Regions from separate parts of the Homo sapiens genome. Here all the other regions are linked to region 3. The links are contacts of gene promoters, found by promoter capture Hi-C in blood cells and fetal thymus (Javierre and others, 2016). All regions are on one chromosome and are shown on one strand. The core of a region is centred on a gene start or on the middle of the fragment in contact, and the rest is flanking DNA. Distances in the headings are between cores, read along the strand shown. Region 1 holds the start of TEAD3 (TEA domain transcription factor 3). Region 2 holds the start of MAPK13 (mitogen-activated protein kinase 13). Region 3 holds the start of CLPSL2 (colipase like 2).

The links. Contacts are between HindIII fragments. The CHiCAGO score rates a contact against its expected background, and 5 or more counts as called.
Region 1: the fragment with the promoter of TEAD3 here is called in contact with the fragment with the promoter of CLPSL2 in region 3 in 12 of 17 cell types (non-activated CD4 T cells, endothelial precursors, total CD8 T cells and 9 more); the score reaches 10.9 in non-activated CD4 T cells.
Region 2: the fragment with the promoter of MAPK13 here is called in contact with the fragment with the promoter of CLPSL2 in region 3 in 2 of 17 cell types (activated CD4 T cells and total B cells); the score reaches 5.5 in activated CD4 T cells.

Annotation. Positions count from the first base shown.
Region 1 is chr6:35,494,723-35,498,328 of GRCh38, forward strand. TEAD3 (TEA domain transcription factor 3) reads right to left here and starts at 2,357. Exons shown (of 13, transcript NM_003214.4): 1 at 2,176-2,357. It overlaps TULP1 (TUB like protein 1), which reads right to left. Exons shown (of 15, transcript NM_003322.6): 15 at 3,152-3,606. The coding sequence ends at 3,605. LOC124901309 (a long non-coding RNA gene) reads left to right here and starts at 3,411. Exons shown (of 2, transcript XR_007059561.1): 1 at 3,411-3,485. RefSeq lists enhancers at 601-1,386, 2,333-3,263, 3,264-3,606 and silencers at 2,165-2,214, 2,395-2,524, 2,535-2,864. The HindIII fragment of the contact is 26,537 bases long and covers 1-3,606 here.
Region 2 is chr6:36,128,642-36,132,265 of GRCh38, forward strand. MAPK13 (mitogen-activated protein kinase 13) reads left to right here and starts at 1,872. Exons shown (of 12, transcript NM_002754.5): 1 at 1,872-2,060; 2 at 2,630-2,759. The coding sequence starts at 1,942. RefSeq lists silencers at 1,768-2,017, 2,058-2,127, 2,768-2,877 and enhancers at 2,023-2,626, 2,518-2,637, 3,348-3,597. The HindIII fragment of the contact is 20,068 bases long and covers 1-3,624 here.
Region 3 is chr6:35,775,232-35,778,582 of GRCh38, forward strand. CLPSL2 (colipase like 2) reads left to right here and starts at 1,367. Exons shown (of 3, transcript NM_207409.4): 1 at 1,367-1,471; 2 at 2,228-2,350. The coding sequence starts at 1,388. RefSeq lists a silencer at 1,348-1,477. The HindIII fragment of the contact is 8,503 bases long and covers 1,159-3,351 here.

The sequences.
Region 1 (3,606 bases), core at 1,107-3,606, 280 kb before region 3:
CCCCACAGGTGTCTGGGAGTGGGGCAGAGGGTAGAGCCACCCAAGCGGCCTCTGAGCACCCTTTGTGCCATTCAGCCCTAACAGAACCCATGACCACTTCAGAGGCAAGATCCCCCAATCCACCAAGCCCCCCTGTCCCTTGACACCTGCCCCCCGCCACCTTTTCAGCCCTGTTCATCTGGCTGAGCTACTCCTCAGTCACCCCTTGGTTTGTCCTTGCCTTCTTCTTTGGGCCACTGGATCACCCACCCGCCTCTCCAGACCCCACCAAGTTCAGGTTCCATCATGGGAGAAGGAAGGCAAACTGGGAGACAGACTCTGGGAGGAGCTCAGAGAAAAGGGACTTGAGAAGTCATTCATTCCAAGCAGGGAAACTGAGGCCCAAAGGGGCCTGCCAAGATGGCGCAACTGGTTAAAGGTCCGGAGGGGACCAGATCCCTATTTCTTGACCACCTCTGTTGAGATATCTTCTCCTTTGATATTGTTGAGAATATCAAATCCTCCCGGTTTTAACATTCCTTCAGTTGGCAGAAAGTGCCAGGGTCTACAAACCTTTGGGTGAGGATGGGAGCAGGGCTCAGGACCCATGTGATGCTTCTGTACACTTAATGTGCTGCTCTGTCCTGGCAACCACTGACCACTCTAACAAGCCATTCCCCAGCCCAGATGCGCTCATTAGCATTAATGACGTTCCCTCCCTGGGGGGGTAGGGGAAGGCCCAAGAGCTTGGGACTCATACTGGCTCCTACCCTCTCCCTGAGGAGGGGGCATCCAGGGCCCCTGAAGTTACCCTTACTGGACAGCCTTGTCCTGGAAGATCTGTGCACTCTGCCCACTGGGTGAGCAGGGACCCAGAAGACCACAGAACCACATCCTTTAGGGAGTGCCCCTACGAGAGGGGTCTTGGTGGGAGGGGGGCTACAGGAGTCTAGAAGGGAGAGGACATAATTCCCCCAAATCTCCAACTTTTGAGGAAAGCCTCCCCTCCTTGCCCCAGGTGGCCCCAGCACTGGGGTGGAACATGTGTACAGAGAACCAGGCCACAAGAGACTGGATACGCAGAGCCGCTATGGGCACCAGCCCCTCTGAGCTGTGTCCAGCCCCTACCCCTATGCCCTGTTCTTCCGGACAACAAGTCCAGGCCTGACCTGGTTCTGCCCCTACCTGGAAAGAGGGAAGACACAGAAGAAGACAGCCCCTGAGAAGTCCGCCCCAAGGCCTCCTTCCCCCTCGCACTGAAAGAATCTCTCAGCCCTGGATCAGGGCCCCTCACCAGGAAAGTTGACAGAGCGGGGTCTCAATGACACTGCCCCAGGGCCCAGCTGGGCTGGAAAACAGATCCAGACCAGCGCTCCCAGCCCTCCCTCCCCTAGCAGGAATAAAGGGCATGACAGACAATGGTGGGGACCGGGGTAGGAAGCGGGAGACCAGCCACCCTCAAACCTTGTCAAGTCTAAACAAGGGCCCTGAGCAAGTGTGGGGAAGAAAAGGCCCCAAATCCAGACCCCTCCGAGCCAAGCTCACAGCGCTCAGGGCTGGAACTCTGAATCAGCACCCCGACGCAGGCGGCAGAACTGAAGGGAACGTGAGCCCCTCCCTGCCTCTCAGGGGACACACGGCCGGGGCGCGCGGCTTTGGTCCCAGACACCCTCCACAACCCAGCGCAGCCGCGGCACCGCGCGCAGAAACCGGCCTGGGCGCTGGGAGGCCGGGCCCGAGGCCTGCGTGGAGCTGAGGCCGGGCGGGCTCCGGGAGCGCGCGGGCCGGGAGTCCAAAGGGCGGCGGGGCCCGGGACTGGGCGCCCCGGATATGAGCTCCAGGGTGGCAGGCAGGCCCTCCACACTGTGCGGCCCCCGGATCCCCGCCCCGACCCCCCAAGCACGGACGGCGGGACAGGCGACGGCACAGGGGACACGGTCTCCCCGGCTTCCCCACCTTCCCGGACCAACTCGTCCCCGTCGCGGGGGGGTGGGGAGGGCGGGGGGCGGGGCTTCCCGGAGAGATTTTCCCCCTTCCCTCTAAACTTCCCGGCACCCCGATCCGGGGCTCCAGCTCCGGCTGGACAATAGCTCGGGGACCCAGTCCCCCTCGAGTGTCGCCCCCCCAGCCAGCCCAGCCGACCAACCAAACCACCTCTCCCGAGCGGGGCCTCCTCCCGGCGTCCGCCCGGCTTACCTGGTCCGAGCTCGCGGGGGCGCTCCGGCCGGGCCGCTCCGCCGGGCCCGAGGGAGCCGCAAGGGGGGCCGGGGAAGGGGGGTCGTGGGGAGGGGGCTGGCCGGAATGTGCGGAATGAGCCGGGCTGGAGCGGGAGGCGCCGAGCGCGGAGGAGGGAGCGAGCGGGACGGAAAGTTTGTGTTGAGGAGCCGGGGCGGGGGTGGGGGCTGCGGGAAGGAGGGGGCGGGGCGCGCAGGGGGCGGTGCTGGCCGGGAGGGGCGGGGCCGTCCAGCCGCGCTCGGGCCGCCTACCCCGCGGCCTCGCGACCCGGCCACCCCGGCTGGCGCGCGCCTGGGCGCCCCGCTCCTCGCCCGCCCGTGCGGAGCTGCCTTCCTCCCCCTGCGCTCCGGGCCTCGCCCCGCTCCCGGGCACCCGCCGGAATTTGGGGCTCCGGCCTGGGGCGGGGCCGAGGGCGGAGCCCTCGCCTCGCGGGCAGGGCTCCCGTCGGTGCCGGGGGCCGTGGGTGCCGCGTCACGAGGAGCCCGGCAGAGCCGGAGCGCACGGGCCCCGGGGCTCCCGGCCCCTCCACCCTAGTCCCGAGCCGCCAAGGCGGAGCGTACCCTCCAGCTCGCGGGCCTGCCCCCCACTCCCGGGGCCCCAGACCCGGCTCCGCCCTGGCGGCTGCGCCCGCCCTGCCGGGACCCGGTTTGTCTGGTTCTCCCCGCGTGGCTAGTTTCTCGAATTTCTTCTCCCTTTCTCCCTCTTCCCCGACCTCCGGGACCCTCCCTTTCGCCCCGGCTCCCCGGGCCCCCACGGGGGGCGTCTCGACGCTGTGCGGCCGCCGAGTTTCGGTAGGACCCGCGACGGGCGCGGGGAGGGGACGCGGGAGCGCCCGGGGCCTGGGCAGGAGTGGGACGGGGGTTGAGACTTCCAGCTCGCGCCTCGGACGCCTCCTGCCGCCTCGTTCTCCGCACGCGCTGAGGAACCACCGCTCCGCTTGGCCAAGGACGCGGCTTTATTGGGGATGTGGGTGCCTGGCCCTCGTCCCCCATCACCTACCCCCTCCTCCTAGCCCGCCCCAGCTCCTCGGAGCCCTAGCGCGGTCCCGGGGAGAGGGGAGGTTAAAACAACAATGACTACTGCTCCCGGACAGGAAGTGACTGGGGCGCGGGGAGGAGGGGGGCACAGCGGCGCAGGCGAGCTCCGAGACCAGATGTGCGGCTCCAACTCCAGATGTTCTTCATCTCCGTCCTACCCGCCGTCCGGGCTCCTCCTGCCTCGGCCTGTGCCAGGCTGGGGAGAGGACGGAGGTCACCGAGAGGCAGTGAGAGGTCAGCCCCGACACAGGAGCAGTTTTCCGCGGGAGCTTTGCTGGAGGGACCCTGCCAGCCTCCACTGAATCCTTTCCCCCACGCTGACGGGCTCTGGGGGCGCTGAGGGGCTGCTGGGGTC
Region 2 (3,624 bases), core at 622-3,121, 350 kb after region 3:
TGTTGTGTGATGATGGCACCCCACCCTCATCTCAGAATGATCTTCCAGGCTGTGCCTGAGGCTGCAGGACTGCCCGGGAGGGCTTGGGGCACAGAGTTTGGGGGCTGCAGACTCCCTAGTGTGGGCCCCCGGCTTGCTGTAAGCCCCTAGCAAATTTCTTTCCTTGTTCAATAGACCTTCTTTTTGACAAAGTGAAGCAGGTGGTCCCCGCCCCTTCCACAGCCCCATGCCTGGGCAAGAGAGGGGTTGGACAAGTCAGGCTGGGCATCCAGAGCCCTTGCAGCCATCTCCTCCCCCCACCTGCCCACCTTGCTCCTCAGAGGCCTTTGTGGTTTGAGCAAAGAATCTCCATCAGGCTGCACAGGCCACCAGACAGGTGGCAAGGGCCCCAATTAGTCATTGTCCTCATAGAGCCTTAGGAAGTCCACAGAAACTGTGTTCAAAACTGCACATTTGGGCCAGGTGCGGTGGCTCACTTCTGTAATCCAAACACTTTGGGAGGCTGAGGTGGGCGGACCACCTGAGGTCAGGAGTTGAAGACCAGCCTGGCCAACATGGTGAAACCCCGTCTCTACTAAAAATACAAAAATTAGCTAGGAGTGGTGGTGTGCACCTGTAGTCCCAGCTACTCAGGAGGCTGAGGCAAGAGAATTGCTTGAACCTGGGAGGCGGAGGTTGCAGTGAGCTGAGATGGCGCCACTGCACTCCAGCCTAGGCAATAGAGTGAGACTCCATGTCAAAAACAAACAAAAATCCTGCACATTTGAACCTGCGTGGATATTTGGTATTATAGAATTAGTGCTATTAATTTTAGGTTTAAGAATGTATTGTGGGCCAGGCGCGGTGGCTCACGCCTGTAATCCCAACACTTTCGGAGGCCGAGGCGGGTGGTTCACGAGGTCAGGAGTTCAAGACCAGCCTGGCCAAGATGGTGAAACCCCATCTCTATTAAAAATACAAAAATTAGCCGGGTTTGGTGGCAGGCACCTACAATCCTAGCTAATCGGGAGGCGGAGGCAGAGAATTGCTTGAACCCGGGAGGCGGAGGTTGCAGTGAGCCGAGATGGCAACTGCACTCCGACAGAGTCTCAAAAAATATATATATATAGTATTGTGGATACGTACTTTTAAAAATCCTTACGTTTTAGAGATACAAAAATATTTATGAATAAAATGATATGACGCCTGGGTTTTGCTTCAAAACGATGGTGGGAGAGGAATGTGGATGAAATAAAATTGATTATGAGTTGTGGTTGCTGGGGAATTGGGGTCACGGGGGTTCATTAGAACCTCCTATCAGATGTGGTTCAGAAGCCTCAGACCTGGGAGCTGGCTAGAAATGCAGAATCTCGGCTCCACCCCAAACCTACTGAGTCAGGATCTGTATTTTAATCAAATAAAATGCCCAGGGGATTCCTGAGCACACTGAAGTGTGAGAAGCGCTGGCTTACTCTGTTCAATTCTTTCCTGCATGTTTGACATTTTCCATAATGAAGAGGTTGTGGGGTTTTGTTCTGCTTTCCTGTGTGTTCACAGTCACAGGGAGCTCTTCCTACGGAGACCGGGGCTGGAGGGAACTGGGAAGCACTGCCTCCCCGCTCCTGCTTGGACCCACCAGCCCCGCCGCTGGCCCGCGCTCGGCTGGGAGGCACCGGGGTCCCGCTGGGCAGCCCCGACCCCGTGCCTGGGCCGCACCTGCCGCAGTGGCTCCGTCGGGCCGGGCGGAAGCGCGGGAGCGCAGGGCTGGACAGGCCCGGGCGTGGCGGCCCCGGCGCACCTGGGCGAGCCGGCAGGTGGGAGCGTAGCAGCCCGGGGCCCCCGCCCTCGCGCGGGGGAGGAGCGGGCGGCGCGGGGCGGGCGCAGCGGGGGTCGGGGCGCTGGGAGCCCGTTGGGCCGCGAACGCAGCCGCCACGCTGGGGCCGCCGAGATCGGGTGCCCGGGATGAGCCTCATCCGGAAAAAGGGCTTCTACAAGCAGGACGTCAACAAGACAGCCTGGGAGCTGCCCAAGACCTACGTGTCCCCGACGCACGTCGGCAGCGGGGCCTATGGCTCCGTGTGGTGAGACCCCTGGGCCGCTGGGGGGCGGGGGGCGGGCGCCAGGCTCTCCCCTTTCCGCCCAGCCCGCCCTGGGCTGGCCCCTCGCCAGCGCCACCTTGACCGCGGACCTCAAGGCCCAGCGCCCTCCCCGGGGCCACCCAGCGGCCATCTCCCTTTTCTCACCGAGTGGCTGAGTGAGGTCTCTGGGGGTTGAGTTGGGACTGGGCCTGGTTCTCCAGGACTGTACACTTGCAAGACCCCAGAGTTCATCGGGCAGATCCTCACTGTTACAGACGAGTACACCGAGGCCCCAAGAGGGGGAGGTGGCTCGCCAAGTTGCAGACAGAGTGAGACTCCCGCCCTGCCGTGGATCCCGTCGCAATGAGACGTTGCTGCCCCTGGCGCTGTGCCCCTCTCTCAGCTCCTGCCTGGCTTCCTACTCCCTGCCCTGCGTCCCGCGGCTCCCCCATATTCTAGGTGGTGGGCCTAGTCCCCTCTCAGCCCAGCTGCCCAGTGGGAGGGGTCAGGGCGGTCTGGGAGATACGGCCCAGGAGGAGAGCCTCGCCTGCTGACCGGCCTGTGCCCGACAGCTCGGCCATCGACAAGCGGTCAGGGGAGAAGGTGGCCATCAAGAAGCTGAGCCGACCCTTTCAGTCCGAGATCTTCGCCAAGCGCGCCTACCGGGAGCTGCTGCTGCTGAAGCACATGCAGCATGAGAACGTAGGTGGTGGCTGCCCCGGGGAGGGGGTGGGGGCTGCCCTGGGGAGTCAGGGGCAGGCGCAGGCGGGGCCTCCCGGTATGGAGAGCTCGGGACAGTCTCCTCCCTGCTCCCCTGACGGTGCCTCTCGCCTCACTATTGAAAGGAGGGGGTGCCGAGACCTTCCCTGCCCACTTTCCAGGAAGAGGTCAAAGGGTATTTTTGGCAGAATGCACTTTGTGAGGTACAGACTGTGTTATCCTACAGAGGAAATTGGCACAGGGGAACTTTGTAATTGGTTCCATGTCTGAGAGCTTGTGGCCAGCTGGGACTAGAATCCTAGTTAGCGTTGTGTCCACGTGACCCTGATAACAATAGCAATATACACATATTGAGCACTTCCTATGTTCTAAGAGCTCTGCATACACTAACTTGTCTAGTCCTCATGATATATGAGTACTACTGCCCCCATGTCACAGACAGGAAACTAAAGCACAGCAAGGCTCACAGATTAGATGGTTAGTCAGTAGCAGAGCTGGGGTTTCAATCTCGGCAGCGAGGCTCCCGGTCTGAGCACATGACCATCAGATTGTCTTGTCTGATAGAAGCAGCTGGGAAAACCAGGGGCCCAGCTCAGGGCCTGGCAGCCAGGCTTTGCTGCAGGATACCTAGATTGGAGGGCAGACATTTCAAAGAATGATTTCAAAATGTTATGTACATTTTAAGCCCATCCTTCTCCAGCAAACCCCTCCCCTATGGCCTCCAGCCAGGGTGATCTTGCCCTTGGCTCTGAACCAGCCCTGTGGCAGGCAAGGATGGATGTGGCTGGAGACCCAAGGTCAGGGGCAGGGAGTTTGCTGGCTGAAAAGCTCCTTCTCTGTTCCCTCC
Region 3 (3,351 bases), core at 117-2,616:
GGAGTTCTGTTGTTACAGCCAGTGTTAATTACTCTGTGACAGCTAGTGTTAATACAGGGAGGGCTCACGGAAATAATGGATACAAGGCCCTCTGAGTGCGGTGGGGGCTGTTATTCTTGGCTGTTATTCCCCACCAAGACAGGATTCCTCGGTTCATTTCTTAAGCGAAACTTCAAAAGCAGAAGCAGGCTGGGAGTGGTGGCTCACGTCTGTAATCCCACCACTTTGGGAGGCCGAGGCAGGAGAATCTCTTGAGCCCATGAGTTCAAGACCAGCCTGGACAACATAAGGACAACCTGTCTCTATAACAAATATTAACAATACAAAATTAAAAAAAAATAGAAATTAAAAAAAAGCAGAAGCAGGCAGGTGGGGTGAGGTGGAAGCTTCATCCATAGGGAAGTCCTGAGGAAGGCCTGCCTCCCCCGGTTCCAGGATTGCTCTGTGCAGCTCTAGCTCTCCCTTAACCCTCCTCCCTATTCTGAGTTTTCTTCTCTTCCCACTTCTCCATTTTGCCCCCACATCTTGACTTTCACACAATTCACAGACAAATCCTTAGACAATTAATAGAATGATTAAGACTGCAAGAGATTTAAGACTTAGAGACCATCTTGTCCCACCTCCTGGTTCTTACAGAAGAGGAGAATGGGGCCTGCAGCGGGTGTGAGCAGCCCAGAGGGTGGGGCTGGATTATCCCGAAGGTAAGGGGAGAATCTGGGGCTGCAAGGGCAGACAGAGAATCAACATCAGGAAGGAAGCTCTTTTTATTTCAGCATATATGTTTTGTGCCGTTTATAAAAATAAAGTTTTGAGGCCAGGTGCGGTGGCTCACACCTGTAATCCCAGCACTTTGGGAGGCTGAAGCAGGACCATCACTTGAGGCCAGGAGTTAGAGACCAGCCTGGGCGACATGGGGAGACCCCCGTCTCTACAGAAATTTTTAAAATTATCCCGGCGTGGTGGCGCACACCTGTAGTCCCAGCTACTCGGGAGGCTGAGGCAGGAGGATCACTTGAACCTGGGAGGCGGAGATGGCAGTGAGCCGAGATCACGCCACTGCACTGGGCGACAGTGCGAGACTCCGTCTGTAAAATAAATAAATACAATAAAATAGAGTTTTATCTTACAATAAAAATAGAGTTTTATCTTACAGTTTCAAGCTTCTACTTGGAAGTAACACGTATGGAGGCTCCCAGGGCCCCTACAGTCTGGAATCCCGCCCGTGCGAGCCTGAGCGCCTTTCCTCCCTCCTTCCCTTCCGCAGGCGTCCTCGCCCTCCACGTCCCTCCTCCGCCGGGGTGGCCTGGGGCGCCGGGTCACGTGGCCGGGGAAGAGGTTTTATCCCGCGGCCCCTCGGAACCCCGCCGCTGCTCTGCCGCCCAGGCCCATGGCCGCAGCCCTGGCGCTCGTGGCGGGGGTCCTGTCGGGGGCGGTGCTGCCCCTCTGGAGCGCGCTTCCGCAATATAAAAAGGTGAGCCGGGGAGCGCGCCCAGCCGGCCGCGACCGCAGGAGAGGGTGGCCCCGCCGCCGGGGCACTGGAGCCCGAAGGCGCCGGGCAGCCTGAAAGGGAGAGGTGGGTCCGGAACCACACCCAGGCGGGTAGCCTGGGGCATCCTCAGACGGACTTCAAAAGCCGCTTCACTTTCCCCTGGTGGCCTCAGAGGGGAGAGAAATTGGCCTATGACCAGCACCCTCGCTCCCTCCACCTCCCCCGCCCGTGCCCCTTCCGATGGCCTCAGTCCTGGGCTCGCTTCCCTCCCCAAACTGCTCACAGGCAAACCCACCCTGCATGCTCTGGTTTCTCCTCCTCTTCTTCCACCTCCTCTCACTGTCTAGTGATTCTTCCAGGCACGAGGGCTCTCCCCTTTTCTCCTCTTTCTCTCCCTCTTTTTCGAGCCCGCAGCCCCTTCATTCTCATCCCCCAACCCTGCCCCGCAAAATGGGACTTAAGAGTACACACCCCATGGGACTCATGGAGGTGAGGGGGGTCCAGGAAAGGAGAGGCCGAGGGAAAAGTGCTAATCCCCCTCTCCTCCTCTCTGCTGCCCTGGGTCCTGCTGAGGGGCCGGGGTGGGGCTGGGGGGGGAACCAGCCCCCCAAGGGGTGACAACCTCATGACTTCTCCTGGATCCCTGGGCTCTTTGGCAATGGTGGGAACCCTCCCCTACCCGCCCACACGACTCAGGGATTGCTCCCAGCCTGGCAGACATTCTGCCTGTCCCCACAGAAAATCACAGACAGGTGCTTCCACCACTCTGAGTGCTACAGTGGCTGCTGCCTCATGGACTTGGACTCCGGTGGAGCCTTCTGTGCCCCCAGGGCCAGAATAACCATGATCTGCTTGCCCCAGGTGAGGCCCTAGTATGGGGCAACTTCTGGCAAGTAGAGAAGCGGGCAGGGAGGTTAAAAAAAAAACACCTGGCCCCACCTGTTTTTTCACCTCTGTCTGGAGTGCCCTTCTTCTTCTCCACTTGGCAAACTCCTACTCATGGTGCAAAACAACTCCAGCCACCTCCTCTGAGAAGGCTTCCCTCCTTGGAGCTCCTGTACCCTGGGGTCAGACCCTCAGCAGACCATGTATCTCCCTAACTGGCCATGTCTTTTCTCTGCCTCTCCCAGTGGTTGGAACTCTTCAAGGGCAGGGATCGCATCATATTCATCTATGAAGCACCTACCCCCAGCTTAGTATCTGCACATAGTAGGTGCTCAATAAATGCTTATTGTTGTTTGTTTGTTTGTTTCGAGATGGAGTCTCGCTCTGTCACCCAGGCTAGAGTGCAATGGCATGATCTCGGCTCACTGCAACCTCTGCCTCCTGGGTTCAAGCGATTCTTGGGCCTCAGCCTCCCGAGTAGCTGGGATTACAGGGGTGCACCGCTATGCCTGGCTAATTTTCGTATCTTTGGTAGAGATGGGGTTTTGCCATGTTGGCCAAGCCGGTCTTGAACTCCTGACCTCAGGTGATCCACCTGGCTCGGCCTCCCAAGGTGCTGGGATTATAGGCATGAGCCACCGTGCCCGGCCAATAAATGCTTGTTGAATGAATGAATATCTCTTCTCTCACACCACTGAGGCAGGGTAAGTAGGAAATGACCTTCCCCTTACTAGTCCCCATCTCCCTGCCACAGTGACATGATTTCTTGAGAGGAGCATGGCACTGCAGTGGCAGGACCACAGCTTTGCAGTTGGACCTGAGTTTAAATCCTGACTTTTCCACACCCTATCTTTGTGACTTCAAGCAGGTCATCATGGCTCTCTGAGCCTTAGTTTCCTCATCTACAAGGAGAGGCTAAAGTACCTACCCCACCAGGCTGTTGGGAAGATTATGTGGTCCTGGCAAGGAGAGTGTGC